7 separate regions of the Homo sapiens genome follow, and regions 2, 3, 4, 5, 6 and 7 are each linked to region 1. Evidence: promoter capture Hi-C in 16 types of primary human blood cells and fetal thymus (Javierre and others, 2016). All regions are on one chromosome and are shown on one strand. The core of a region is centred on a gene start or on the middle of the fragment in contact, and the rest is flanking DNA. Distances in the headings are between cores, read along the strand shown. Region 1 holds the start of ZFC3H1 (zinc finger C3H1-type containing). Region 2 overlaps LOC105369850 (a long non-coding RNA gene). Region 3 overlaps OSBPL8 (oxysterol binding protein like 8). Region 4 has its middle 9.1 kb from the start of NAP1L1. Region 5 overlaps NAP1L1 (nucleosome assembly protein 1 like 1). Region 6 has its middle 11 kb from the start of CAND1. Region 7 overlaps CAND1 (cullin associated and neddylation dissociated 1).

Region 1 (3,742 bases), core at 707-3,206:
CTAATCGTGCCATTCTTTTTTAAACCCTCCATGGTTTCTCAAGTACTCTTAGGATAAAACAGAAAATACTTAAGTAGCACACAGGACCCAATCTGTCATCCTTTGGTCTCATTTGAAATGTCACATCCTTTGAAAAAGTGTTCTTTGACTTTCCAAGACTAAGTTAGGTCTCTGAATGTTTCTTCTGTGGCACTTAATTATTTATGTCTTTCTCCACCATTAAATTCTAAATTCCAGGAGGGTTAGAACTTTCTGGATCCTTAGCACAATGTCAGGTAATTAGGAACTCCGTACATATTTGATGGATGAATGAACAAAGCACTACATATGCATGAACTAGTTTAAAAACAGAAACATCACAAGATTTTTTTTAAGTGGCAGCTTTTAATAAAAGTACAGTTCGTAATAGGTAGGGAAAAAGGTCAAGGATATAATTTCTACATACTAACATATACGTTGTTAGGTATATAAAATATATAAAATCAGGACTGGTGTCACTTAACTTTTTAATGTGTCTTTTCTTCGGGCACGTGGCAGGCACTTGCAGAGAAGGTAAACATTTACAGAGTACCTGTTATTTTCCAGGCATTGTTCAAAGTGCTTTCAAGAGTTCTGGTTTGACAGAACTAAAGAATTTTGATTTTTCTTCCAGCAAACAAAAGAAAACCTAGGTTCTTTTTATTACTCTATTCTAGTAAGAACAGAAAGGTTATCTTTTGCACTTTAATTAACATCGCTTAATTCCATGGCTATCAAAGATGACTCAATTCCTCCGCAGAATTACTATGTGACTATTAGAAATCTAAATGCCTCCCATGTCAATTCATCTAGTGAGAATTTCCTAATTTTAACGGGAACACAGCAGGCTTTTACGGTGATTGCTGATTGGGAAGATCTCTTTCTCCCTTACGGCGTCATTCATGTCAAGGCCCGGTCTAACAGAGGAATAAAACAGTAGAAAATTACGATATCCTCCTGTTACTTTTTTTTACTAAGGGGTAATGACCAAACAGTACTTGGATTTCTTTTAGAAAATGAGTAAAGCTTCCCCGAAAGCAGAGAACAATTGGGCAGATTTGAGAAACACAAAGGACATACGATGCTTCCCTGCTACCAGCTGGGAAAGTTATTAGAATTAGCAGAATCCTCCTGTTCCTTCCACACAAGCGATAGCCACAATAGGAACTCCAGTTTCCGTCACCCCCACTCCCTGCCCAGGTTACCTGTGGAAGCTGATGTTAATGTGCTTGTTGTAGGTAGTGGCACAGCCCGCCGCAGCGCAATTGGTCGGCATTTCCCTTTCCCACTCATTCAGCGCCCTTAGGTCTCTACTGAGGCGCTGGCTGCTAAGCTTTCTTCTGGCAGAGGCTGGACAATCGAGGCAGGCGTGCCTTAATCGTGAGAGCTTAGTCGTGAGAGCGGAGTGGGAAGAAGGGGTGTGTATGTGGGGGCGGAGGCGAAGGACGGTCAGCCTTCCCTTTCTCTTTATTAATATGGCCGACTAGAGCCCACAGAACTGGCCCTCCTGGAGCTCTAGTCGCCTTCGCTTGACTTCACCAACATGGCGGACACAACCCGTTCTTTCTCCCCGCCCCCAAGAGGGAGCGGATCTACTGCGTTTCTTTGGCAGCGGTCCTCAGAGCAATTAAAAGGAAGAGGTGTTTTCCCCTCCGATTACTATAAATTACAAGAGTTTTACAATAAAACTCTCTCAAGGCTGCAACAGCAGCTCCACCTACTTCTGCATGCACCCAACTGTACCAAGCCAGACCCTGCGGTGGGTGTGACCCTAGGACCGGAAGAGTAAACCCGAAGAAAGACGAAAGACTACAAATCCTAGTGAGTATCGAGTTGGTCTTATTATCGCGTGAACTGGGAGCCTTTGTTTCCTGCGTGTCGCAGGAAGTGACGTTTCGGGTACAGCCGCTACCAGAGTCCCTTTCTCGCGAGGCGGAAGAACCCCGATCGCTGAGGAGCAAGGGGGCGCTAGGAAAGGGAACTGGGTTGCGACGGTCCGGCGAGAGAGAGCTGGGGTGCTGGGGTGCGGGGAAGTTGGGGAGCAGAGGCCGCTTGGTGTCCGAGTAGGGTAAGACCGCACCGACCCAGTCCGTTAGGAAAGAAGGGAAACGAGGCAATTGTCGGGCGGATCCCCGGACGGAGGGCTAAGGTTGTGTGGAAGGCGCTGCTCCCCGGATGGCGACCGCAGATACTCCGGCCCCGGCCTCCAGTGGCCTCTCGCCGAAGGAAGAAGGGGAGCTTGAAGATGGGGAAATCAGTGACGACGATAATAACAGCCAGATACGGAGTCGGAGCAGCAGCAGCAGCAGCGGCGGCGGGCTGTTACCCTATCCGCGGCGAAGGCCTCCTCACTCGGCCCGGGGCGGTGGATCTGGCGGAGGCGGTGGCTCTTCCTCGTCATCGTCCTCTTCTCAGCAGCAGCTGAGGAATTTCTCACGCTCGCGGCACGCGTCTGAGCGGGGCCACCTCAGGGGACCCAGCAGCTACCGACCCAAAGAACCGTTCCGGTCTCATCCGCCTTCTGTACGGATGCCTTCGAGCTCACTGTCCGAAAGCAGTCCCCGGCCGTCTTTCTGGGAGCGGAGCCACCTCGCCTTGGACCGTTTCCGCTTTCGAGGCAGGCCTTACCGGGGTGGGAGTCGCTGGAGTCGGGGGCGAGGAGTGGGTGAGCGAGGAGGCAAGCCGGGGTGCAGACCTCCTCTGGGAGGAGGAGCAGGATCCGGGTTCAGCAGCAGTCAGAGCTGGCGAGAGCCCTCTCCACCTCGGAAGAGCTGTATCCTTAACGTGGCGGTCGGCGCTGGGTGTGTCACTAAAGTTCCCTTTAGCGTCATTACTAGGTCTGTGAGACGAGTGTAACTTTGAATCATCAGAACCGCTTATTTCTCCCTGTGTCAGTATACTTTAAGTTGTTCTTTGGTAATTCCCCATGTGTCACACTATAGCGTTATTCTTAAGACTGCTTCATTGGGTATATTAACGTGCTGTGGATTGGGTTAAGCTTATGAAATCTAAGACAGTTAAGTCTGATTTGTAATAATACCTTAGAAGCCCAAGTTTCATTAGCATTTGTATTTTTGCTGGTACAGAAACTTTGTGTTTTATATGAAGTTGACTTGGATTGTTAGAGAAAAAATATTCATAAACAGTTTAAGTAATATTGTTGCTTTATCATATTGCAGTTTGACGTTGAAAATTGTAAAGTTTTAATCTGCACAGTCCTGCACTATTTTTGTGATTCTGTTTTTATCTTGATTTATTCCGGTTGCTGCCTTTTAAAGTGGGGGGGGGAGGGGTAAAAAAAAAACAACTCTGGTGTCTTTACCAAGTCTGTTTCAGAGCTTTTTGATTCATTTGATCTTTTTGGAACACTTTACCTCCTTTACGTTTCTATCTGTGTTCACTTTTGCACATTGTGTAACTTCGTGCTGACTAAATGAGGGCCAGAGAGAGAAAGATAAACTTATCAGCATTTTTATTTTAATACGTTAGAGTGGAGGAATGTGTATGCGAGGGTGGAGATTACGGGTAAGTTGAGAAAGGAAATAGTAACATTCCAGATTTTTCCTACTTCTAACCTTATTCTCAGTTTTAAACATTACTGAGTTTACTCAGCATTTATACAGAGGAATCAATCATCCGAAGGTTTCCTGTTTTATAATGGGTTTGTAAAACACTATCTTGACTTAATCTGTGATCATTGCAAAAATTGTTTAAAGACTTTCAT
Region 2 (3,742 bases), core at 684-3,183, 4.9 Mb before region 1:
ATTTCAATAAGACTTAATTGTCTTTAACCTGTGAATACATAATTATATAATTTGTTATGATGAACTTTCATTTATAGACTTCTATGGAGGGAATCATTAATACTTCATAGTTAAGTGAAAATAGTATATAATTCTGCTTTTTATTACTCTAAATCATGATCTCCTAAATATATGCTACTTTCTTAGTCTAATTATGTAATACATCATCTTCACTGGTACATTATGTAAATTTGAAATAAGAATGTCATTGTGAAGAAAAACACTTAAAATGCTGTTATTTAAAAAGAGAATACCAATAATATATTAATACAATTTGCCTCTATGGATGAGAAAAGAAGAAATGTATCATGTTTTTGCTTTTAAAATAAAAGGTATGTATCAGATGGAGATAATAGTACTAGTTTGTAAAATACTTTGTCTAATGAGGTCTAATAGTAGGCATAAAATGCAAATTTGGTTGGGTCTATTTCTAATGTTAGATATGTGATTTTTTTTTCTTTAAAAAAACTTATTAAAATAATTTTAACAATACTTACTGTTTGTTTGCATTGTCAATTGTATTTAGATTTAGGCAAATATCTACCACTCTTAATGCTCTTCGTTTATTATCAACTCTCAGACCTTCCATTTGAGTTGATTTTCTTCTTCTTCTTCTTTTTTTTTTTTTTGAGACAGGATCTCTCTCTATTACCCAGGCTGGAGTATAATGGTGTGATCATGTCTCACTGCAGCCTTGATCTCCCGGGCTCAAGCAGTCCTCCTACCTCAGCCTCCCGGGTCAGGACCACAGGCACACATTACCATGCCCAGCTAACTTTTAAATTTTTTGTAGAGATAAAATCTCAATATGTTGTCCAGGCTGGTCTCAAACTCCTGTGATCCTCCTGCCTCAGCCTCCCAAAGTGCTGTGATTTACAGGCGTGAGCCACTGTGCCTGGCCTGGGATCATTTTCTTTTTGTCTGAAAAAAGAAATTTCTTTAGACTTTCCTTTAGCGAGACTCTATTAGCGGCAAATTCTGCTTTTGCTTGCCGGAAAATTCCTTTATTTTGGCCTCATTCTTGAAATAATTTTTTCACTGGGTACTGAATTCTAGGCTGACAGTCATTTTCTTTTAGTCCACTGAAGATATTATTCCACTGTCTTCTGTTTTTCACTGGTTCTGATGAAAAGTCATTTACCTGACACTTTGAAGATTAACTATATTTTTTCTTTGTTGCTTTTAAGGTTTTCTTTTTTGTTTTTGGTGTTCTACAGTTTCACTGTGATATATCTCAGCGTGGTTTTATTATTCTTTAACTTGCTTGGGATTTGGGAGGCTTCTTAAGTCTGTGAGTTGGAGTCTTTCATCAGTTCTGGAAAGTTCACAACCATTATCTTGTCAAATACTGCCTCTGGCCCACTGGCTCTTTCCTTTTCATCTGAAGTCATAATTAGATTTTAGAGCTGTTTACAATGTCCTCCATGTCACTTAAAGTCTCTTTTATATTTTTAATTTATGTTTTCTTTTTTTATTGCATTTAACTTCATCTTTATCTTCCATTTCATTGGCTTGTATTTCTGCTGTGTCAAATGAACTACTAAATTTGTCCACTGAGTTTTTATTCTAATCATTTATGTTTTTCAACTCTTTTAGTTCTATTTGCTTTTTTCAAAATCTTCATTCCTACTTTAGTTTTTTGTTCTCTGCACATATTTTCAAACTTGTCTTTTATTCCTTTACTCATATTTAATATTGTTATTTACAGTCTGTGACCCCTTTTTTTTTTTTTTTTGAGGTGGAGTCTCACTGTCGCCCAGGCCGGAGTGCAGTGGCGCGATCTTGGCTCACTGCAACCTTCACCTCCCGGGTTCAAGCGATTCTCCTGCCTCAGCCTTCCCAGTAGCTGGGATTACAGGCGAAATTTTTGTATTTTTAGTAGAGATGGGGGTTTAACCATGTTGGCTAGGCTGGGCTCAAACACCTGACCTCAAGTGATCTGCCTGCCTTGACCTTCCAAAGTGCTGGGATTACAGGCATGAGCCACCACACCTGGCCCAGTCCGTGACTTGTAAATCCAGGATCTGAAGTCTTTTAAAATTTGTTTGTGCTGTCTTAAGTCTGTACTGTTTCTCACGAATGGTGTCTTATTCTGTGCTTGTTATTTTTTTTTAAATGTGAGCTGCTCATTTTCCTTAAAATTTTATTTATAGTCATTCTTTATGGCTTAAGATGAAGGTGGGTTCCTCCAGAGAGGATTGGTATTTGCTTCTGCCAGGTTTCTGAGAGCATTATCAGTCAAAAATTCATAATTACGCCTAGGTACAGTGGCTCATGCCTATAATCCCAGCACTTTGGGAGGCGGAGGTGGGCGGATTACCCGAGGTCAGGAGTTCGAGACCAGCCTAGCCAACATGGTGAAACCCCTGTCTCTACTAAAAATAAAAAAATTAGCTGGGCGTGGTGGCACGTGCCTGTAGTCCCAGCTACTCGGGAGGGTGAGGCAGGAGAATTGCTTGAACCTGGGAGGCGGAGGTTGCAGTGAGCTGAGATCATGCCACTGCACTCCAGCCAGGGCGACAGAGAATCCCTGTCTAAAAAAAAAAAAAAAAAAAAATCTTAATTATTAGCCTGAAGTTTTTGGGGACCACCCAGCTAGTATGAATTCAAGCTACGTTTTTGTGTGAGAATTGGATTGCAGTTCCAAATTCTCAGATACGATTTTGCTTTTCCCCTGTCCACCAGGTGCCAAGGTTTAAGACGGCTAATTTTCTTTGTAGATTCTGGGGGATGGGTGCCTATGCTAGTAAGCAGCAAGTTTATTTCTAGTATATCCTTACATCAAATTAATAATCCTTGGAATTGCAGTTGTTTGTGTGTGTGTGTGTGTGTGTGTGTGTGTGTGTGTGTGTATAATGCAGGTAATGGGTTTTGTGTCTTTCTTACAAGGTCACGAAAACCAATGCTCCTAGTAACTGGGTTTAGCACATGCCCTTGAGATAAAAGTTGGCTGACTCTGCTAAACTCTAGGTTCCTGCCTTCATTTAGTTTTTTAACTTAATAATTTCTTACCCTATTGTCAGTTAATCAATATATTTAATAAGATTTAAAAAATGTTTTTTCCAGGGATTTTGTTTTCAGTGTGACAAGTGTGAACTAGTCCTTGATATTTCTAGAAACAGAATCCTATATTCTCTTTATACTTTACTATCCAAATTTTCCTCAAGGGATATTTAAGACAAATAATACTAAACAGAAATATTTAAAATCAGTATGTAAATATCTTACATGCAAACATTTTGCATGCAAATTTACAGATTTTATAAAGACTGCTTCTTAACATAAATTTTAGGTGGATATTTACCAAATAGCTGGTTGACTAGTTTGTAGATGTCTGTTATTTATTTTATTAAATAGACAAATATTATTGTTCCACAGTACATTTAGCCTTTGACTCATGAGTTTGTTGGCTCAAATTCACTTTAGATGATTTGCAAGATTATGCTACGCAACAAACAATCTCAAAAATATTTGTGATTCACAACAACAAATATTTTTGTTTTACTCTTGTTTCACATCAGTAGCCGTATGTCAGGAGCTGCAAGTCAGTTGCTTCAGTTCTGTACAGGGTGAGAGTTTCAGGTCTGCTCCATCTATTTTCTTATTCTGAGATCTTATCTGGAACATACCTTTCTCATGGCAGGTGGCACAAGAGTAAGAGATTGACCTGAATTTTGCAATCAAATTTAAAGCCTCTGCTTTG
Region 3 (3,742 bases), core at 334-2,833, 4.9 Mb before region 1:
CTGTAATCCCAGCACTTTGGGAGGCCGAGGCGGGTGGATCATGAGGTCAAGAGTTTGAGACCAGCCTGGCCAACATAGTGAAACCCTGTCTCTACTAAAAATTAGCTGGGCATGGTGGCAGGTGCCTGTAATCCCAGCTACTTAGGAGTCTGAGGCAGGAGAATCACTTGAACCTGGGAGGTGGACGTTGCAGTGAGCCGAGATCAAACTACTGCACTCTAGCCTGGGTGAGACTCCGTCTCAAAAGAAAAAAAGAAGGAGTCATGTATCAGTCTGATTCACTATCCTTTTAAGGTGATTTGTTCTTTATTCTGTCTGAAAACTTTTAGAATCCGTTCTTTTGTATCTTCTACAAAGTCATAATGAGGTGTATAGGTCATTTTTGTTTTGTTTGGCTGTTTGTCTAGATACTCAGTTGCTCTTACAGTCTGAATCAGATTATTTTTCCAATTCCAGGAAACTCTTCTCTGTCTTTAATAATTTCCTCCCTTCATCATGTTTTTTGCTTTTCAGTAGGCAGTTGCTTTCTGTCTTGATCTTCCTTCTCTCATCTTTTATATTTTGTGGGTTTTTTTTCCCCTTTAGTATTTTGGCTGATTTTCCTGGGGGTAATCTGTAAGTTTTGTTGTTCTCTTTTTCTTTTCCCACCATTTTTACACTATGTTGTATTGTCGTCTTGAGTCTTAGAATGTGCAAATTAGATTTTTTTAAAGATACCTTGTGTCTCCTTGTGTCTAATTTATCTCCTTTTCTCCTCCGGTCAGTTTTTATGTTTGTTTTTGTAATCATTCTTTTTTCATGCTCAGTTTTCCTTATGTGCCTGATAATTCTTGGTTGTCCATTCATGGTTAAGAAAGACAGACTAGGTTCCTGGTCACCCTCCCTCCCCTGTTCCTTGGACTGTTTTCCCTATTAGATTTTTTTTTCTTTGAGTAGGAATTCTGGCCAGAGCACTTTGTGGGGCAAGGTAGTACAGAGTAGGATCTGTCTCTTGGCAGATTGTTTTAGGGTAAAAGAGAGAGGAGCTAGCTGCTAGGCTATGTATGGGCCCTTTAAATGCTGGATGAGATGTGTTTACTCTGTGCCACACCTCCGCTTAGCTTTCCCTAGATAGTGGTTCACTTTCTTTAGGGAAAAGCTGACTTGTTTTTTTGCCTGGAGGTAAAATGTCAGTTGTTTAGAAACTGCTTGGAAATAGGGGATGGGAGATATAGCTGTCCCTTATAGTTAGTCAAGTAATACTCAGTTCTCTTATTTTTAACCCTACTATTTATTTCCACCCTCTGCTGTACCATTTACTTTATAATCATGCTTTCCTGGGGATCTTCTCAGACGTATTGGTTCCCATCCTTTCCATGTCACTCTTAAAGGTTATAATGAGGCTGTGGCTTTTTCCGCTTGTTATTTCTATCAATCTCACATATACTTTCATTTCCCAGAAATTTGTTGGATTTTCTTTCTAGCCTCAATTTTAATTTCTTTACTGTTACGATTTTCTTTCTTTTATGAGTTGTTTTTATTTCAGTGGAGTATCTGGAGTAACTGAAGGGAAAGTTTGTATTTAGCGCCCCATCTTTTATTAGAAGTCTTCTTCTAGCTTCATAAACAGAAGAAACAGAGCCTATTGAACTATTTTTTTGTTAATGCAGATTTATTCATAGAAATTATGATGATCATGATACAGTGTTAAAATACACTTATGTCCCTTCACTATTGATTTGTATAGTTGTTTGTGCCTTTATGCCGCTTGGTCCTAAAACTTGAACTCTGAATTCTTGCTTGCTTCATAGTTTTTGTTTCCCCTTTCGTTGTCCCCTACCCCAACTTGCATGTTGTTATGATTATCTTGCCATTTCTTGTTTGCTACTTGGAAACTGAATGAAACTGTTTAGAATTGTGTGTAAAATAGTGACTTTGCTCCAGGGAATGGCATTTTAGCTTTAAACACATGACCCTTGTGGCATTTTAATTATTTGGAAGTCTTTTGTTCTGTTTCTCAAGTGTATCTAGATGGGTGAGGGGTTATTCTTTTTCATTTACTTCTCTGCCTCATGTGTGATAGCTACTTTGGTTCAGTAGTTGATATTTTTTCCTCCATTGCTTTTCCTTGTCTTCTGTGTTATCTTTGGTACTTTAAATGTTGAGTTTAGATTGCCTGGCAAGTTCATTGGAAGCCTTAATTTTCATTTGTTCCTTTCATTTTCTACTCATAAAAATTTGCTAGCATTGTTTTATTCTTTTTTATTGTTTTGTATTTTTTGTTTTTTTGTTCCTAGCATTGTTTTAAACTTGTCTTTTACTTCTTTTCCCATACTCCTTTTCATAATCTTCAGGCTCCATATTGATTGAGCTTAGAATACTATTGTAAATTAACCTGGGTAAATAAATTTAAATACATTCATCTAATTTCCCTCTCTTCTGTGATATTTCTGCATTGGCAGAATGCAAATCTTGTTTAATTCTGCTCTTAATCTTGTTTAATCGTTTTCAATTCTTTTCTCATAAGATTTTGAAGTTCTTTCTTCTACAGCTATGGTTTTGACTATTGGAATGTGTGTCTTTTGTAATTGGAGTCGTAATTCTCCTGCAGTCAGAGGTTTTTACACGCCAGATTTAAAAAATGCTGACTACTTTGAAGTTGAAAATCCTGTCAGAGGGGTTGTGATTTGGAAGGCTTAAATCCCCAAATTTGGCCTGATTATATAAGGTATTATAGAACTTTCATAGTAAATACTGTACTTGTTTGAAATTTAAAGTAGCTTAGAAAATAATTGGCCCCTTTACATTTTTTTTAAATTTGCTCATTGTCCAGGAAGTCAAAGTTTTAAATATTTTCTAATGTAGTGGACTGATTACTGATGATCTTGTTACCTTTCTCTATATTCTGTGAAACTAGCTCTTGATTTTAGATCAAGAAACTTTTAGAATCAAGTGGTTATATACCTCATGCTTTATTTTTTACAGGTATTCTAAACATTTTCCCTCTCAGATATCAGTTGTCATGATTAATTTCTTGTTGACCGATTGAATCCTTTATTCCTTCTATTATGTTTATAATTTTGATACTTTTTTTTGCTATCCCTGAAATTTTAAATAGAATCTTCAAACATCAGATTGTACACCTTAAATATGTACAATTTTTTTATATGTCAGCAATACCTTAATAATGCTGCTAGAAAATAGAATCTTCAGCATTATATAGATAATACTTTGAATGTTTTATAATATTTGATTATTTGGGAAATGATGGCTCTTATTATTTTCCCAAGAATTTATGATTAGGTTGTAGGAATTTAAAAAAATACCCTGTCATTACTGAGGGAAGATTTCTCTGTAAAAACAGAGATCCATTTAAGAGGTTGATTGTTTAACATAAATTTAACATGCATTTTAACTAGCAAGATTTTGTTTATTTGGTTATTTTGGAGGAGCTTCTTCATAATTCATTAATAGAGGTTAATAGTAAACAGTAGAAATTAGCATTTCCTTGACATTTTGATTATGCAGAAAATATAGATGTTTCTTGCTATAAGCAGGGAATTGGTTCCAGGACCCCCAACGTAACACAAAATCCGTGCATAGAAGTCCCGTAGCTGGCCCTGCGGAACCTGCGTATTGTAAATGTCAGCCCTCGACATGTGTGGTTTTAACATCTTACGAATCCAGTGTTTTCAGTCCTTGTTTGGCTGAAAAAAATCCGTGTATAAGTGGACCCATGCAGTTCAAACTCTTGTCATTCGAG
Region 4 (3,742 bases), core at 901-3,400, 4.4 Mb before region 1:
TGGCTTATAACTCATAATGTTAACCTTGATCATTTAGTTAAGGTAGTGTTTGCCAGGTTTCTTCACTATAAAGTTAATATTTTTCCATTTCCATACTATTTTCTTTGAAAGTGAGTCATTGTAATTCCATACCACAACCAAAAGGACAGGATTAATCTCTATCTCCTAGAGAGGAGTGTCTACATATATTCTTTAGAATTCTTTTTTTTTTTTTTTTGAGATGGAGTCTTGCTCTGTCACCCAGGCTGGAGTGCAATGGCGTGATCTCGGCTCACTGCAACCTCCACCTCCCGGGTTCAAGCGATCCTCCATGCCTCAGCCTCCTGAGCAGCTAGGATTACAGGCACCTGCCACAGTGCCCAGCTAATTTTTGTATTTTTAGTAGAGACAGGGTTTCATCATGTTGGCCAGGCTGGTTTCGAACTCCTGACCTCAGGTGATCCGCCTGCCTTGGCATCTCAGGTTGCTGGGATTACAGACGTGAATCACTGCGCCAAGCCTAGAATTCTTCTATAAGATAAATTTCTCCCTTTATCACTTAAGTATTTATTCAATAATACTTATATCATTATGGACTCATGGATATTTATTTTACTCTCTGAATTATAATCCAATACTATCACTGTTTTGTTGGTTTTTTTGGGTTTTTTTGTTTTTGTTTTTGTTTTTTTGCTGAAATTGTTCCAGCTTTGGCCACTGGGGAACTCTTTCCAATTGCCTCTGGTGTCCTTTTGACCTCTCTCCTACTTTTATAATTTTCTTTTTTTTTTTTTTTTTTTTTTTTAGCACTATAAGATGTTCCAGACTCGTCTTGCGTTTTCCCTCCTTTAATTGGAAATGGTATTTAGAAACTAAGATTTGTGAACTGGTCATGCTTGTTGTTACTGTGGTGTCACTATGTGTTAGGCTGTTCTTGTATTGCTATAAAGAAACACCTGGCCAGGTGCCGTGGCTCATGCCTGTAATCCCAGCACTTTGGGAGGCCGAGGCAGGTGGATCATGAGGTCAAGAGATCGAGATCATGCTGGCCAACATGGTGAAACCCTGACTCTACTAAAAATACAAAAATACAAAAATTAGCCAGGCATGGTGGTGTGTGCCTGTAGTCCTAGCTACTTGGGAGGCTGAGGCAGGAGAATTGCTTGAATCCCGGAGGCAGAGGTTCCAGTGAGCTGAGATCATGCCACTGCACTACAGCCTGGTGACAGAGCAAGACTCCATCTCAAAAAAAAAAAAAAAAAAGAAAAAAGAAAGAAAAAGAAACACTTGGGGCTGGGTAATTTATAAAGAAAAGAGGTTTAGTTGCCACATGGTTCTGCAGCCTGTACAGCAAGCATAACATTGGCAGAGTGGAGTGGGGGAGGTACCACATTTTACCAGATCTCATGAGAACTCATTCCTCACTCACTATGGTGAGGACAGCCTCAAGCCATGAAGGATTCTGTCCCATGACCCAAACATCTCCCACCAGGCCCCACCTCCAACATTGGGAATTATATTTCAACATGAGATTTGAGCAGGGACAAATATCCAAACTATATCACATTGCTTCTAGGCTTCCTCAGTGGGCAAAGCTAGGAAATATATTAGCCTATGTATATATACATCTTTATTGTCCATCTATTTATCATCCATCTATCATCTATCTATAAGCATGAATTCATTCATACCTCTATCTCTGACCCTAATCCAGCACCCCATGGTTCATTCTAGCCTTCTCTCCTTGCTTATTTGTGACTTTTTCCCAGTAGCAAGAGACCTGGCTCCCATTATCTACAATTATTTAGTTATTTGCCAAACCCTAGTGTTAGGAGTTGAATTGTGTTATCCTAAAATTCATATGTTGAAGTCCTAAACCCCGGTACCTCATAATGTGACCTTACTTGGAGATAGCATCTTTACAGAGATAATCAAGTTAAAATGAGGTCATTAGGGTGGGTTCTAATCTGACTGATGTCCTTATACAAAAGGGAAATTCAAACAGACACACACATAGAGGGAGGCACAGGGAGAGGACAGCTATTTACAAGCCAGTGAGAGAGATCTGGAACAGATCCTTCACCCACAGCCCTCAGAAGGGACCAACTCTGCTAACAACTTGATTTGGGATTTCCATCCTCCAGGACTATGAGAAAATACATCGTATTGCTTAAGCCACCCAGTTTGTTATGGTAGCCCTAGCAAACGAATACAGATTTCCTAGTATACAGGGAAATTAGTTTCCAAATTGCTAATGCTTATTATCTCTTTGATAAATAAATTTATCAACTATAGTGCAATGTTTATGTGTAGCTCTTTTTGCCTTTAGCCTTATAGTGTCCAGTCAAAATACTGTTTTCGAAAGTCAGCTCCTTTTTTACTCACCCCCTCAGTGAGATTATATGTTTATAATTCAGTTAGATTAATTTGTCACAGTCTGCATCTCATCCTAGGATCCCCCAACATCTGGTTGATTTTCTGAAAAATTGAATATAGCAAATGGATTTTGCTCAATGTATATAGTCATATATCCACTACCTATAAAATATAGAACAATTCCATTATCTTTAAAAAATCCCCTCTACAACCCCTTTGGAGTCAACTCTGCACCTCTCCTCCAACCCCTGGCAATCACTGATGCTTTCTATTTTCATAGTTTTGCCTTTTACATATGCTGTAGAAATGGAATTGTAATATATAGAGTTTTGAATCTGACTTCTTTCACTTAGCAAAAATGCATTTGAGTTTCATCCATGTTGTTGAGTGAATTGATGCAGGACAGGTGAGCCCCAGAATTGAGGCTTAGTCCTGGAGCGATCTTGGCTTTGCCCAGGAAAGAATTCAAGGGTGAGTGGCAGTGTTAAATAACAACTTTTATTGAAGTGGCAGGGTACAGCAGCAGCAAAGGTACTCCTCCTGCCAGAGCAGAGTTACCCTACAGGCAGTGTGCCCAGAGTAGCAGCTCAGAGGCACTTCTGCAGTCCTATTTATACCCACTTTTAATTATATGTAAATTAAGAGGTGGTTATGCAGAAGTTTCTAGAATAAGCGTAGTAACTTCCAGGTCATTGCCATGGAAAGGGGTGGTAACTTTCAGGTGTTGCCATGGCAATGGTAAACTGACAAGCACACTGGTGGGTGTGTCTTATGGAGAGGTGCTTCCACCCTAGACCTGTTTTAGCTAGTCCTCAATTTGATCCTGATGTCCAAACCCCACCTCTGGAGCCAAGTCCTGCCTCCTACCTCAGAATCAGTAGCTCCTTTCTTTTTATTTCCATCGTATAAATGTGCCACTGTTTGTTTATCCACTCACCTGCAGAGAGAGATCTTGACTGTTTCCTGGTTTTGCCAGTTAGAAATAAAGTTGTATACGTGTGTGTGTTTGTGTGTGTACATAAGTTTTCAATTCACTTGGGTAACTACTCAGTAGAAGGATTACTGTGTCATATAGTAAATGTATATTAAACTTTATTTCATTTATTATTAAAATTTTTTTGTTGTTCATTTTTTGTTTTTGTTTTTGTTTTTGTTTTTTTTGAGATGGAGTCTCACTCTGTCACCCAGGCTGGAGTGCAATGGCATGATCTCAGCTCAGTGCAACTTCCACCTCCCAGGTTCAAGTGGTTCTCTTGCCTCTCAGCCTCCTGAGTAGCTGGGATTACAGGTGCCGGTCACCACGCCAGGCTAATTTTCTCTTTTTAGTAGAGATGGGGTTTTGCCATGTTGGCTAAGCTGGTCTGGAACTCCTGACCTCAGGTGATCC
Region 5 (3,742 bases), core at 474-2,973, 4.4 Mb before region 1:
CAGCTGTCAGTCTTTTTGTGCCTTTGAAGTTAATCTACCTTTTTTGTGTGTGCTTTTGAGATGAATTTGTTTTTGCTATCTTGCCTTTTTACTGATGTATCCGGAGCTGGATAAATATATGTGTGTGTGTGTGTGTGTATATATATATATGGATTCTTTATTTTATGGTTTTGATTTGTAGGGCTACTTGAATCTGTGGATTGGTGTCTTTCATCACTTAAGGAAATGGAAAATTATTGCGTATTAACTTCTTCAAATATTCTGTCCTCCTGCTCCCAGAACTTGTATGAAGTCTTTATTAGGCTTCATTGGATCTTAACATGTCTTTTCATTTCAGTATTTTCAGTCCTTTAGATTCTGTGGCTCTGCCATATTTTCAAAGTTTTCTTCTAGGCTTCATTTCAGCTCACTTAATTCTCTCTTCAGCTGTGTATCTTACTCTTAAGCCAGCCCATTTAGTTTGATTCATTAGTTTTATTTCTAGAAGTTCTAGTTTTCCAAATTTTGTTATATCACCTTTAATAGATGACTTCCTTGCAGACAGTGTGTTTTCAAACTTAGATCAAAGACAACCAGGCTTACTATGTCTGTAGGTATGTATTTGTTTATAGTCTGACAATTTTTAAGTCTTTGTGTAGGATTGATTTCTGTTATATTTTCTGTTTTTCCTGTTGGCTGTGAAAATTACTTGTATGAATTTTTTAAGGTCTAGAAGGAAGCTTTCATTTAATTTTGATATACAGGTGTCTGAATATACCAGGGACAGATCATTTTAAGTACATAGCTTGGGGTTTGGAGGGCAATACAGATGAGGTAAATTTGGGCTGTTTGTCCAGGAGAATGAATTTATTCTTGAGGATATAGCATTTTGGGGTTCCTGCTTAATTTGGGAGGGTTACCATAAAGATAGCCACCGTGGACAGGCCCAGAATTTTAACTTTGGTTAAAACCAAAGTTCACGTTGCTGATAATTGGCAGTTGACCTCAGTGCAAAAGTGCCTTCCTTCTGCTCCTGTTTTGCCCTCAGTTTTGGGCTGGTGATTCCTTACTATCTTGTTAGCATTTCAGTGCTTTTAAGATTTTTAACAAAATGTTTTTGTTAAAAAACATCTGTACTTTTAATTCTTTTCCTTTTTTTTTTTTTTTTTTTTTGAGACAGGGTCTTGCTCTTACCCAAGCTGGAGTGCAGCGGTGTGATCTCGGCTCACTGCAGCCTCCTCCTCTGGGTTCAAGCAATTCTCCTGCCTCAGCCTCCTGAGTAGCTGGGACTACAGGTGTGTGCAACCACGCCCGGCTAATTTTTTGTATTTTAGTAGAGACTGGGTTTCACCATTTTGCCCAGGCTGGTCTCTAACTCCTAAGCTCAGGCAATTCGCCTGCCTTGGACTTTCAAAGTGCTAGGATTACAGGCGTGAGCCACTGCGTCCGGCCATATTTTTCATTGGTAGAATTGATCTGCATAATCTAGTTTGTCGCTTTCAGGAATGAAAGTTTTTCACAGAGATCTTGGAATGCAATTTAATGTATAACAAATAAGATTCTCACTGATTTTATTTAATGTCAACTGCAGTAAAATATTAATACAGGTATTAACCTAAACTTGTGTTTCTCAATGTGGTCTACCTGAGAACCACCTCTCAGAAGCTGAGTTTCTTGTTTAGAATGCAGATTTTTGGGTCCCACTTCCTCAGATGTTTTTCTGCTTTATATAGATGATGAAATAGAGCCAGAAGTTGTTTGTCTTAGTTTGTAGATTGCTACAAAGTTGATGTCAGCCCAAATGATCTGACTACAACTGACTAGAAAATTAGGTCTATCTTACAACCAAGAAATACAATGTAGCCAGAATGGGCAGGTTAGAGCAGCCTTCTCTGGAGGAGTAAATGCCTCCTGTTAATGTTCTGTAAATGTTCTGTCTTGGATCCTCTTTACTAAAGTTTCATTTTAAGAATTTAAACTGTAAATGTAATGCTGCAAATGGACATTGAGGTTAGCAGTGTAGCCATTCTGTGAACACATTAAAATGTTACAAAAATTTAAATTTGGAAGTTTTAGGTTTTGTTTCTGTTTTTGACAATTGCTGGGTTTAGTAGACACTATATATTAAACCTAGCAAATCTCAGAATAAATTTGTGTATTGGAAATTATTATATAAATCTGTGTGTTGGAAAACCAAATGCAGTCATGCACCACATAAATACTTAGCCATTATATTAAAGTTGCCTATGGTATTCAATACAGTCACATGCTGTATAGGTGTGTAGCCTGGGAGCAATAGTCTATATCATAGCCTAGGTGCGTAGTAGGCTATACCATCTAGGTTTGTGTAAGTATACTCTGATGTTTGAACAACAATACAATCACCCAGAGACACATTTCTCAGAACATATAATCCACACATGACTGTAATGGTGAATGGGAAATTAGTTCTCATTACCCCCAGTCCCTTCTTTCTCATTAGGTTACTCTGGTTAGGTTTTTGGTGTTTGTTTTCAGAAAGGGTTTATTTGTATTAAAGTATGTGCGTATATGAGTGGAGATATATATATATATATATATATATATATATATATATATATATATTTCCATATCCAAAGGGGATTTCGGCATACATCCTATACCTTGCTTTAGTGTTCCTTCATATCAACTCAGATCTGTTTCATTTGTGACTGCAAAGCATTCCATTTTTGCATATTCCATTATAGTACTAAGTTTATAATAAGCTTTGTGTGCTACCCCAAAGAAGACAACGCTATGATTGTCAAGATCAGATTTAATTCCTGTAATCATGAATTTTGTCAGTTGGGAGAGACAGACCATAGGTCAAACTAATTTATAATTACAGACTGAGACATCTTATGGTGGAAAGAAAAGAAAGCTTTATAGGAGTGTGTGTACAACCAAGAAATCTTACTTAACCGGAATGTGCAGGTTGGAGAAAGCATCTCTGGGGAGTGAAACTTTGAAATGAGAGCCAAAGGATGTGCAGGACTTGTTCAGAGCTGTGGAAGAACCTTCTAGGTGAACATGGAAAGCAAAGGCATTAGATTCTTTATAATTTTTTCATGGTAGAGCTCATAAGTGAATAAATCTGGAGATGGACATATTTTGTTTTTTTAATTTTTATGTTTTTAAGAGACAGTGTCTCATTGTGTTGCCAAGGCTTGTCTTGAACTCCTGGCCTCAAGCGGTCCTTCTGCTTCGGCCTCCCAAAGTGCTGGGATTGCAGGTGTGAGCCATGGTGCCTGGCTGAGATGGACATGTTTAAGGCTTTTGATATTCCTATTGTCAGGTTGCTCTCCAGAAAAGATACGGGAACACTAGCTGGAAATAAGGATGCATGTGCACTACAGGTTTCCCTGTATTAAAAAGAAGTTATTGATGATGTGGTAGACAAACTGGAATCCTACTTGGATTTCTTTGATGTCAGAGTTCAGTATTTTTCTTATTTTTGATTAATATTCATAATTGCTAAACACTTTGTAAATGCTGACTCATTACCCAGCATCACTAGAAAAATTCATCAGTACTATTAGGAATTATTTATAACAAATACAAAATATTTACAGAGTTAGATACATTAGGAAGAATAATTTTCTTTATAATTACTCTAAAGGATAGATACTAGGTCAGTAATAATGTTTCCCCCAAATATTAGCACTTAACTGCTAAAATCAGGATGTTTTCCATTTTTAACTCTTTGTTCATAGGCATAATACGTTGCTATGAAAGTAAACACATG
Region 6 (3,742 bases), core at 404-2,903, 4.4 Mb after region 1:
TAGATTAATTTTTTGAGAAAACCCTGTTATTTAGACACACGGTCCCATATTTTGGCCCTGGATTAGTATATTTTTATTTTAATGTTTAACCTATGGAGAAACTAAATAATTCCCTTTAAATTTTAGTCAACTTGTTTATGCTTATAGAACTTTTAAAATAAGATGAACTCTTTACAAATTTTTTATATTTATTTAAATTTTTAATTTTGTTTTGTTAAGGTAATTTTTAAAACTCTTTGGATTAGACAAAATTATATTTTTTAACACAAATCATATATACATATATATTATATATATATATATATATATATATATTTTTTTTTTTTTTTCTGAGACAGAGTTTTGCTCTCGCTGCCCAGGCTGGAGTGCAATGGCACATTCTTGGCTCACTGCAATCTCCAGCTCCCAGGTTCAAGCGATTCTCCTGCCTCAGCATCCCGAGTAGCTGGGATTACAGGTGCGCACCACCACACCTGGCTAATTTTGTATTTTTAGTAGAAACGGGGTTTCTCCATGTTGGTCAGGCTGGTCTCAAACTCCCAACCTCAGGTGATTCACCTGCCTCGGCCTTTCAAAGTGCTGGGATTACAGGCATGAACCACTGCGCCCGGCCAAAAAATTGTATTTTTATACCATTTATAACTTTTTACTAAAAGCAGATTTAATTTTTTAAATATATTTTTTGTATATTTTGTATGTAAAACTGTTTTTTAGTAGTTTTAGCTTTTTTTTCAGACAGTCGTGCTCTGTTGCCCAGGCTGGAGTGCAGTGGCACCATCTCCGCTCACTGCAACCTTCACCTTCTGGGTTCAAGCGATTCTCCTGCCTCAGCCTCCTGAGTAGCTGGGATTACAGGCATATGCCACCACACCTGGCTAATTTTCATATTTTTAGTAGAGACAGGGTTTCACCATGTTGGTCAGGCTGGTCTCGAACTCCAGACTTCGTGATCCGCCCACCTCGGCCTCCCAAAGTGCTGGCATTATAGGTGTGAGCCACTGTGCCCAGCCAAGTTTTAGCATTTTATAGATGAGAACCATTCTACAATTTTGGAATATGTTTTTCATATAATAAATTTTTTAATTGGAAATGGCACAGACATTTAATAAGCATCTATAATGATTTTAAGATTTTAAATTATGTACAAAGTTTTACTTATAAGCATTTATCTCATACATACTCAATTTTTTATTTTAATTGTTTATTTAGATTACTTTTGAAAACATTATATAGGGATGGTCATGATTTAAAGTTATTTTTTTCTTAACTATTTCAAAGTTTATGAACATAAGGTGTTTAAGAATTTAAACGTTAAACACATGGACATTTTGTTGATCATTTAGAAGATTTAGTTGCTTTTATTCAATATTAAGTGTTTCATTTATTAAAAATTATATAAGCAAAAATATTTTGGTTTTGGGTGGGTTTATACTTTTATAATTTTTATGCCAAATTTTGACACCTAATAATATTTGGCAGAGATGAATATGAAACCATTTAATCAATAAACTCAAACAAAAATATATGTTAATAGTTTTTTAAACATTTTAAATGTTATTTTGTTAATAATTTTTAAGGCAGGCTTATTTATCAAAGGTGCATGTGAACTTGTAAAGCATTTGGGCTTAATTTTATTTTTTTGAGACAGGATCTCACTCTGTCACCCAGGCTGCAGTGCAATGGTGTGATCATGGCTCACTGCAGCCTCAGCCTCCCCAGGATCAAGTGATCCTCTCACCTCAGCCTCCAGAGTAGCTGGGGCTACAGGCATCATCACTATACTCAGCTAGTTTTTATATTTTTTTAAGAGACAGGGTTTCGCCCTGTTGCCCAGGCTGGTCTCAAACTCCTGGGTTCAAGCAGTCCACCTTCCTCAGCCTCCCAAAGTGCTGAGATTACTGGCATGAGCCACTTCACCCAGCCGGGATTAATTTATGAGTATTCACTTACCTACATGTCAATTTGGTAGTATGTTAGACACAAGACAGAATGTAACTATTATATTATGTATCCATAGCTAAACATGTATACGTACATACACAAAGATTCAATAGCTTTTACCTTGGAGCTCTAGTCATGAGACAGCACCACCAACTCACGGACATATAAAAGATAGGTGACTCTTAGGTTATTTTTTTGATAAAATTGGAACCTGTTCACATGGCTAAACTTGGTTTGCCCTGCTAGGTAATCTAAGCAAGGCTGTGAACCAAAATCTGGGGTAAAGTAGTCTTTATGGCAGTTTGGTTTAACAAAACCTTTTTAAAATATATACTTTAAATGAGTTTTAATGTTTATATTGTAGTTAGGCCATAAATAATGAGTCTTCTCTCAGTACTAGCAGTTTAGTAACAGTAGATTTAAAGCAGGCAGGAAAAAGAAAGATAGAGTTTTATAAGACTCTATTTAACTCTATAGTGTAGGTTCACTCTTTGAGCTTTGAATTTTTTTGTTGTAATTTGTCTATCAGTTTAAAATGTGCAGAGAAATGGGCCATAATATGTAACCACTTGGAGTTTCAAAGAGAACGACAAAATTAGAGGCCAGAATGTTGGAAACTGTTTTTCCCTTTCAAGGCTAGACCCCTAGATTGAACAGAACAAGGGAAAGAGAAAAGAAAGGAATGGAGAGGAAAGAGGTCAAGTTTTACAGGAGGGCTTGTGAGCCTTTCAGCTACTGTGGGTGTGGGGTCAGTACCCCCAACCCACCCATATTTATCTTCCATCAGGGAGAGCCTTAGCACCCCAGACCTACATGGTGTGGGACAAATATCTCCCACCTCCACAAGTCGCCAGTCAAGGTGAGCCATTTCCAGCCAGAGGGAGTTAAGGGTGCTTTGGGCCCAGAGGAGTAAGGCTGTGGGTAGCTTCCAAGATAATCAAGAGGATGAAGTTGGAAGAAGGGGAAAGAGAGAGATCAGGGCCCATACAAACACAAATATCACAAAACGGCCCCCCAGGTGACAGAGTTGGATGTGAGCAAAGCCCTGAGGATGCCACAAATACAAACAAATACAAATGTATACAAACAGCTTGCTTCCAAACAAATCCCCATACGGGTCTGGGTAGAGTTCCACATTTCATATCTTAATTTTAACCTGTCCTCCTAGATGATTGAGTCGATGTGAGCAAAGCCCTGAGTGTGTCACAAGTACAAATGCATAAAAATGCCTAAATGGTGATGCCAGCAGCTAAGTCTAAACAGAGCAGAGCCCCAGCAACACCCCAGAAGAGGCAGAGGAAGGTTGGGTGCACACCAACAACTCAGTTCCAAAGTTTGTCAACTTCTTCAAAATGTCACTTTCTTTTTATCAGCAAAGCATTGGAAGCAGCAGATGCCACGGCAGGAAAAGAAAGGGAGGTTCCCTGAAACAAAGGTGCCTAGGCAGCTGCTGGGAGCTCCTCTAATGTTCTGGCCACAGGGTCAGCTAGCCACGAGCAGCTGGCACTCATAGGAGGCTCCATGCCCTGTCTGACAGGGGATCAGTCTGGCAAGCCCAGGGCCCCTTGGGAACGCATGGTGCTCTCCGTCCTGGCCACCAAAAATTGTATCCAGCAAAAGGGGTCCACGGTTTGTTGTTTGTGAAAAGAAGTCAAAATAATAATGAGGTGTGATAGAAAGAGAGCAAGACTTTATTATCCATGTTAGCAAGGATAAGAGCAGGTGGGATTCTTTCCAAAAATGTCCACTTTCCCTTGGTGGAGGGAGCACAGGTTTTTTTTTTTTGTTTGTTTGTTTTTTT
Region 7 (3,742 bases), core at 813-3,312, 4.4 Mb after region 1:
CATCATCCAACTTGATGGAATCTTTCTGCAGTTCCGTCATCAAATCATTTGTAGCCATAAACCTATCAAAAAAATAAAATTTGTTAATTTGAAAATTTTAAAGCATTAATTTAAAAAGATAATGATTTTTCAAATCCACTGCTATACCATTCACTCAACAGAAACATCTTTTATTATAAAACTCATCCACTTTTTAAAAAAAGTGATCATAAATTTAATCTAAAAGCTACCAAGGAAAAGAGCAATAATGTACTTAAAATTCATTGTATCCAGAGAGACGGTGAGACTTTTTAAGTACTGATATGCTTTTATATGAGGTACCACTATCCAAAATTATTTTCCCCAGGTCAGTCTTGATCTCAAATTGACTACCAGGACCTACAGTGAGTACTCTTTCATTCTAATTAATTGCATCACTGCTTTTAGGTGAGAAAAGTTCCTCTTTACTTTTTCTTTACATGAGATTTGAATTCTATCTAGGAAGCCCTTAACCAAAAACATTAAGAACACCTTCCAAACATTAAGAACACTTTCAAAACAAGTACGTTGCATTGCAGGGGATGATCACATATTACTGGAAATTTTCCAAAATACCCATCACTAGGTATCAGGCCTATTTTCTTTTTCATTCTCTTTTTTTTGTAGAGGGAGTCTTGCTCTGTCGCCCAGGCTGGAGTGCAGTGGCAGGATCTCGGCTCACCGCAACCTCCGCCTCCCAGGTTCAAGCTATTTTCCTGCCTCAGCCTCTCAAGTAGTTGGGATTACAGGCGCCTGTCACCACGCCCAGCTAATTTTTGTATTTTTAGTATTTACTATACAAAAATAATAATTTAGTATTATTTATAATAATTATAATTTATAAGAAATAATTTATAAAAAATAATTTAGTATTATTGTATTTTAGGGTTTCACCATGTTGCCCAGGCTGGTCTTGAACTCCTGACCTCAGGGAATCCACCTACCTCGGCCTCCCACAGTGTTGGGATTACAAGCAGGGGCCACTGTGCCCAGCCACCAGGCTTATTTTCAAAATAGTGAAGAGGTGATTCTAAAAAGTAGCTCTTCCCCCTGACATCGCCCACCTCCCCTCCCCTTAAGAACCACTGCCAAAGGAAGGTTTAACAGTGTGTTGCCTGGCAAAAACCCAGAGTGATCAATCATCTAATCTCAGCTTTAAATGAAAAGGACTGAATGGTGGCCAAGATAAATAGAGTCTCAGGTAAAATAAGGTATAAACGGCATCTCAGATTTTCTTCTCCACATGCCTTACCAAACAATTCATTGTTTTAAAAGTGATTTCTCAGAATATGAGATAATCACATTCAAATAAAGCCCTAAGACCTCCTTAAAAGTCAAATGAACTTGTCCCATAATTCTTGGCTCCCCTCCACTTACAGAAGCAATCCAACTAAGATAACTAGTTAACACTTTTTTCTTTTATTTGAACCAGATACAGTTTTAGTAAAAATACGTTATTTTGTACACTACAGAGAAATGTCAAAATCCATGTTTAAACAAAAAAACAACTATTGGAGCTGAATTGATAAACAGCTATGGAGATAGTCCGCAACATGGGAAATAAACTGTGTGGTAAAGGTTGGCAAAACAACTTAATAATTTAGAAATGCATTACATGTAAGGCAATTTTAAGGATAATTCCAATAACTAGTACGTTCATTTAATGCTGATCTGACAAAGTTTTACACTACATGCAAGTAGGTATTATGGTAAAAACCACAATTACTTTTGCACCAACCTAATAGTTTAATTCTTACCACGTTCTGTAAAACTGCTTATTTTTAAAAAAGCTTATATTTGCATTAGGGCAATACAAGATCAGTTAAGCACGTACTTTTAAAAAATGGACACAGCTCTCCTAATTGGAAGCCCCTCACCCATTTTATAATGTGACAAAACAAAATTAAAACTACATGACTAATTTTCATTAATATTCTGGAAAGTGGAAAAATTGCATAACACATTAATGCAGGCACTCCTGCACACAAAGTACTGAAAAAATCTTAACTGTTTTACTTAAACAAAATCCATTAAATAACCATAATAGTTATGACCTCTAAGAACCACTGCAGTGCCAGTTACCTGCTTCCAGAGAAAACAGGGATCATCAATTTAAGTAGAAAAACATAATCCCAAGTAAAAAGTTGTTTTATGGTCCTGTATGGTTCTACCGGCACAAATTCATTCTTTACTTATTGTTTATTTATTCACTGTCTATTATGTAAGAAACTCTGGACTAAGAAATCAGGACAGATAAAAGTTGAATACACTTTGGCCCCCCTAACATCAAGAAGCTTACTTATATTGTAATAAAGAAGCCTACTGATTTTCAAAAATCTATGATTAATGGTTAAATATTTTAAAAAGTTGAAATGAGCACTATCAAAATTAGCAATAGATATTTTTAAAAAGCAGAAAAAGTAGATTATTATAATACCAAGAGTTGCTTTTAAATGGTGACCCTGAAATCACAAAGTTCTGGGAATAATTTATTCCTTCTATAAATGTGGTATTAAAAATTTACACTATTAATCTTATTAAGGAAGCTGTTTGACCAGTTTGAAAGCTGTCCATGGCATGTCCATGTCTCTTCAGCATTTACTCTTTTAGGTATGGTGCTAAGGGCACAGATCTCAATACATTTTATAAAACACTACTCAAGAGCATATGGAAATTATCACACCCAAGAGTTGACTGTTAGGTTGGATCTCAAAGGATGAACAGGGGTTTGCATGGGAAAAATTGGTTTGGAATTTAAATTACTTTTTTTTTTTTTTTTGGTGGTGGGGAAGGACAGAGCACCTCAGAGTGAAGGACTAAGGAAACAGTTCAGTATGTGGAGCACAGAAACCTAATAGGAAGATGATGGGAATATAGGCTGAGGTCAAAATGGGAATGGCGTTATATACTCATACACTGTGTAATAAGAACCTACTACATATCAGGTACTGTACTAGTTTTTGCTGATATAAGGGCTAACCAAAGCACACACAATTCTTGCTGTCTTGGAGCTTACATTGCAGTCTAGTAAAAGGCATATTAACTTTTTAAATTGCATGTATGAGTAAGCACCTGTAGAACTAAGAACTAAGATAAATGCTATGAAGGAAAGTGTTATCAAGAAAACACTATGGGGCCAGGTGCCAGTGGCTCACGCCTGTAATCCCAGCACTTTGGGAGGCCAAGGCAGGCAGATCTCCTGAGGTCAGGAGTTCGACACCAGCCTGGCCAACATGGTGAAACCCTGTCTCTACTAAAATTACAAAAATTAGCTGGGTGTGGTGGTGTACACCTGTAATCTCACCTACTTGGGAGGCTAAGGCAGGAGAATCGCTTGAACCTGGGACACAGAGGTTGCAGTGAGCCGAGATTGAGCCACTGCACTACAGCCTAGGTGACAGAGTGAGATTCATCCCAAAACAAGAAAGCACTATCATATAAACAAAGTAACATGACCTAGACTGAACTGCGGGTTGTGTCAGGAAAGACTGATCTGAAGAGTAGGAGCTGGGCATGGTGGCTCACACCTGTAATCCCAGCACTTTGGGAGACCTAGGCAGGTGGAGGTCAGGAGTTCCAAACCAGCCTGGACAACATGGTGAAACCCCGTCTCTACCAAAAATACAAAATTAGCCAGGCATGGTAGTACATGCCTGTAATCCCACCTATTTGGGAGGCTGAGGCAGGGGAAATGCTTGAACCTGGGCGGCAGTCGCTTGAAGCC

What was found. Contacts are between HindIII fragments. The CHiCAGO score rates a contact against its expected background, and 5 or more counts as called.
Region 2: a contact is called between a fragment that was not itself captured here and the fragment with the promoter of ZFC3H1 in region 1, in 4 of 17 cell types (activated CD4 T cells, non-activated CD4 T cells, naive CD8 T cells and 1 more). The highest score is 5.9, in activated CD4 T cells.
Region 3: a contact is called between a fragment that was not itself captured here and the fragment with the promoter of ZFC3H1 in region 1, in 1 of 17 cell types (non-activated CD4 T cells). The highest score is 5.6, in non-activated CD4 T cells.
Region 4: a contact is called between a fragment that was not itself captured here and the fragment with the promoter of ZFC3H1 in region 1, in 1 of 17 cell types (naive CD8 T cells). The highest score is 5.9, in naive CD8 T cells.
Region 5: a fragment that was not itself captured here is called in contact with the fragment with the promoter of ZFC3H1 in region 1 in 5 of 17 cell types (activated CD4 T cells, non-activated CD4 T cells, total B cells and 2 more); the score reaches 8.1 in activated CD4 T cells.
Region 6: a contact is called between a fragment that was not itself captured here and the fragment with the promoter of ZFC3H1 in region 1, in 2 of 17 cell types (neutrophils and monocytes). The highest score is 11.4, in neutrophils.
Region 7: a fragment that was not itself captured here is called in contact with the fragment with the promoter of ZFC3H1 in region 1 in 1 of 17 cell types (activated CD4 T cells); the score reaches 15.8 in activated CD4 T cells.

What each region holds. Positions count from the first base shown.
Region 1 is chr12:71,662,062-71,665,803 of GRCh38, reverse strand. ZFC3H1 (zinc finger C3H1-type containing) reads left to right here and starts at 1,956. Exons shown (of 35, transcript NM_144982.5): 1 at 1,956-2,791. The coding sequence starts at 2,194. It overlaps THAP2 (THAP domain containing 2), which reads right to left and starts at 1,503. Exons shown (of 3, transcript NM_031435.4): 1 at 1,224-1,503. The coding sequence starts at 1,294. RefSeq lists enhancers at 1,494-1,853, 1,303-1,861, 2,214-2,333. The HindIII fragment of the contact is 1,665 bases long and covers 1,354-3,018 here.
Region 2 is chr12:76,563,111-76,566,852 of GRCh38, reverse strand. The region is part of intron 2 of LOC105369850 (a long non-coding RNA gene); the gene reads right to left. Among named protein-coding and RNA genes, the nearest start is that of OSBPL8, 5.2 kb to the right of the region's middle. The HindIII fragment of the contact is 4,447 bases long and covers 1-3,742 here.
Region 3 is chr12:76,545,937-76,549,678 of GRCh38, reverse strand. All of the region lies in intron 1 of OSBPL8 (oxysterol binding protein like 8), which reads left to right. Among named protein-coding and RNA genes, the nearest start is that of OSBPL8, 12 kb to the left of the region's middle. The HindIII fragment of the contact is 5,207 bases long and covers 1-3,742 here.
Region 4 is chr12:76,091,902-76,095,643 of GRCh38, reverse strand. No RefSeq gene overlaps it. Among named protein-coding and RNA genes, the nearest start is that of NAP1L1, 9.1 kb to the right of the region's middle. The HindIII fragment of the contact is 9,589 bases long and covers 1-3,742 here.
Region 5 is chr12:76,075,391-76,079,132 of GRCh38, reverse strand. All of the region lies in intron 1 of NAP1L1 (nucleosome assembly protein 1 like 1), which reads left to right. Among named protein-coding and RNA genes, the nearest start is that of NAP1L1, 7.4 kb to the left of the region's middle. The HindIII fragment of the contact is 2,004 bases long and covers 722-2,725 here.
Region 6 is chr12:67,256,567-67,260,308 of GRCh38, reverse strand. No RefSeq gene overlaps it. Among named protein-coding and RNA genes, the nearest start is that of CAND1, 11 kb to the left of the region's middle. The HindIII fragment of the contact is 5,325 bases long and covers 1-3,742 here.
Region 7 is chr12:67,278,230-67,281,971 of GRCh38, reverse strand. It overlaps CAND1 (cullin associated and neddylation dissociated 1), which reads right to left. Exons shown (of 15, transcript NM_018448.5): 2 at 1-62. Among named protein-coding and RNA genes, the nearest start is that of CAND1, 11 kb to the right of the region's middle. RefSeq lists enhancers at 2,992-3,491, 3,492-3,742. The HindIII fragment of the contact is 504 bases long and covers 1,811-2,314 here.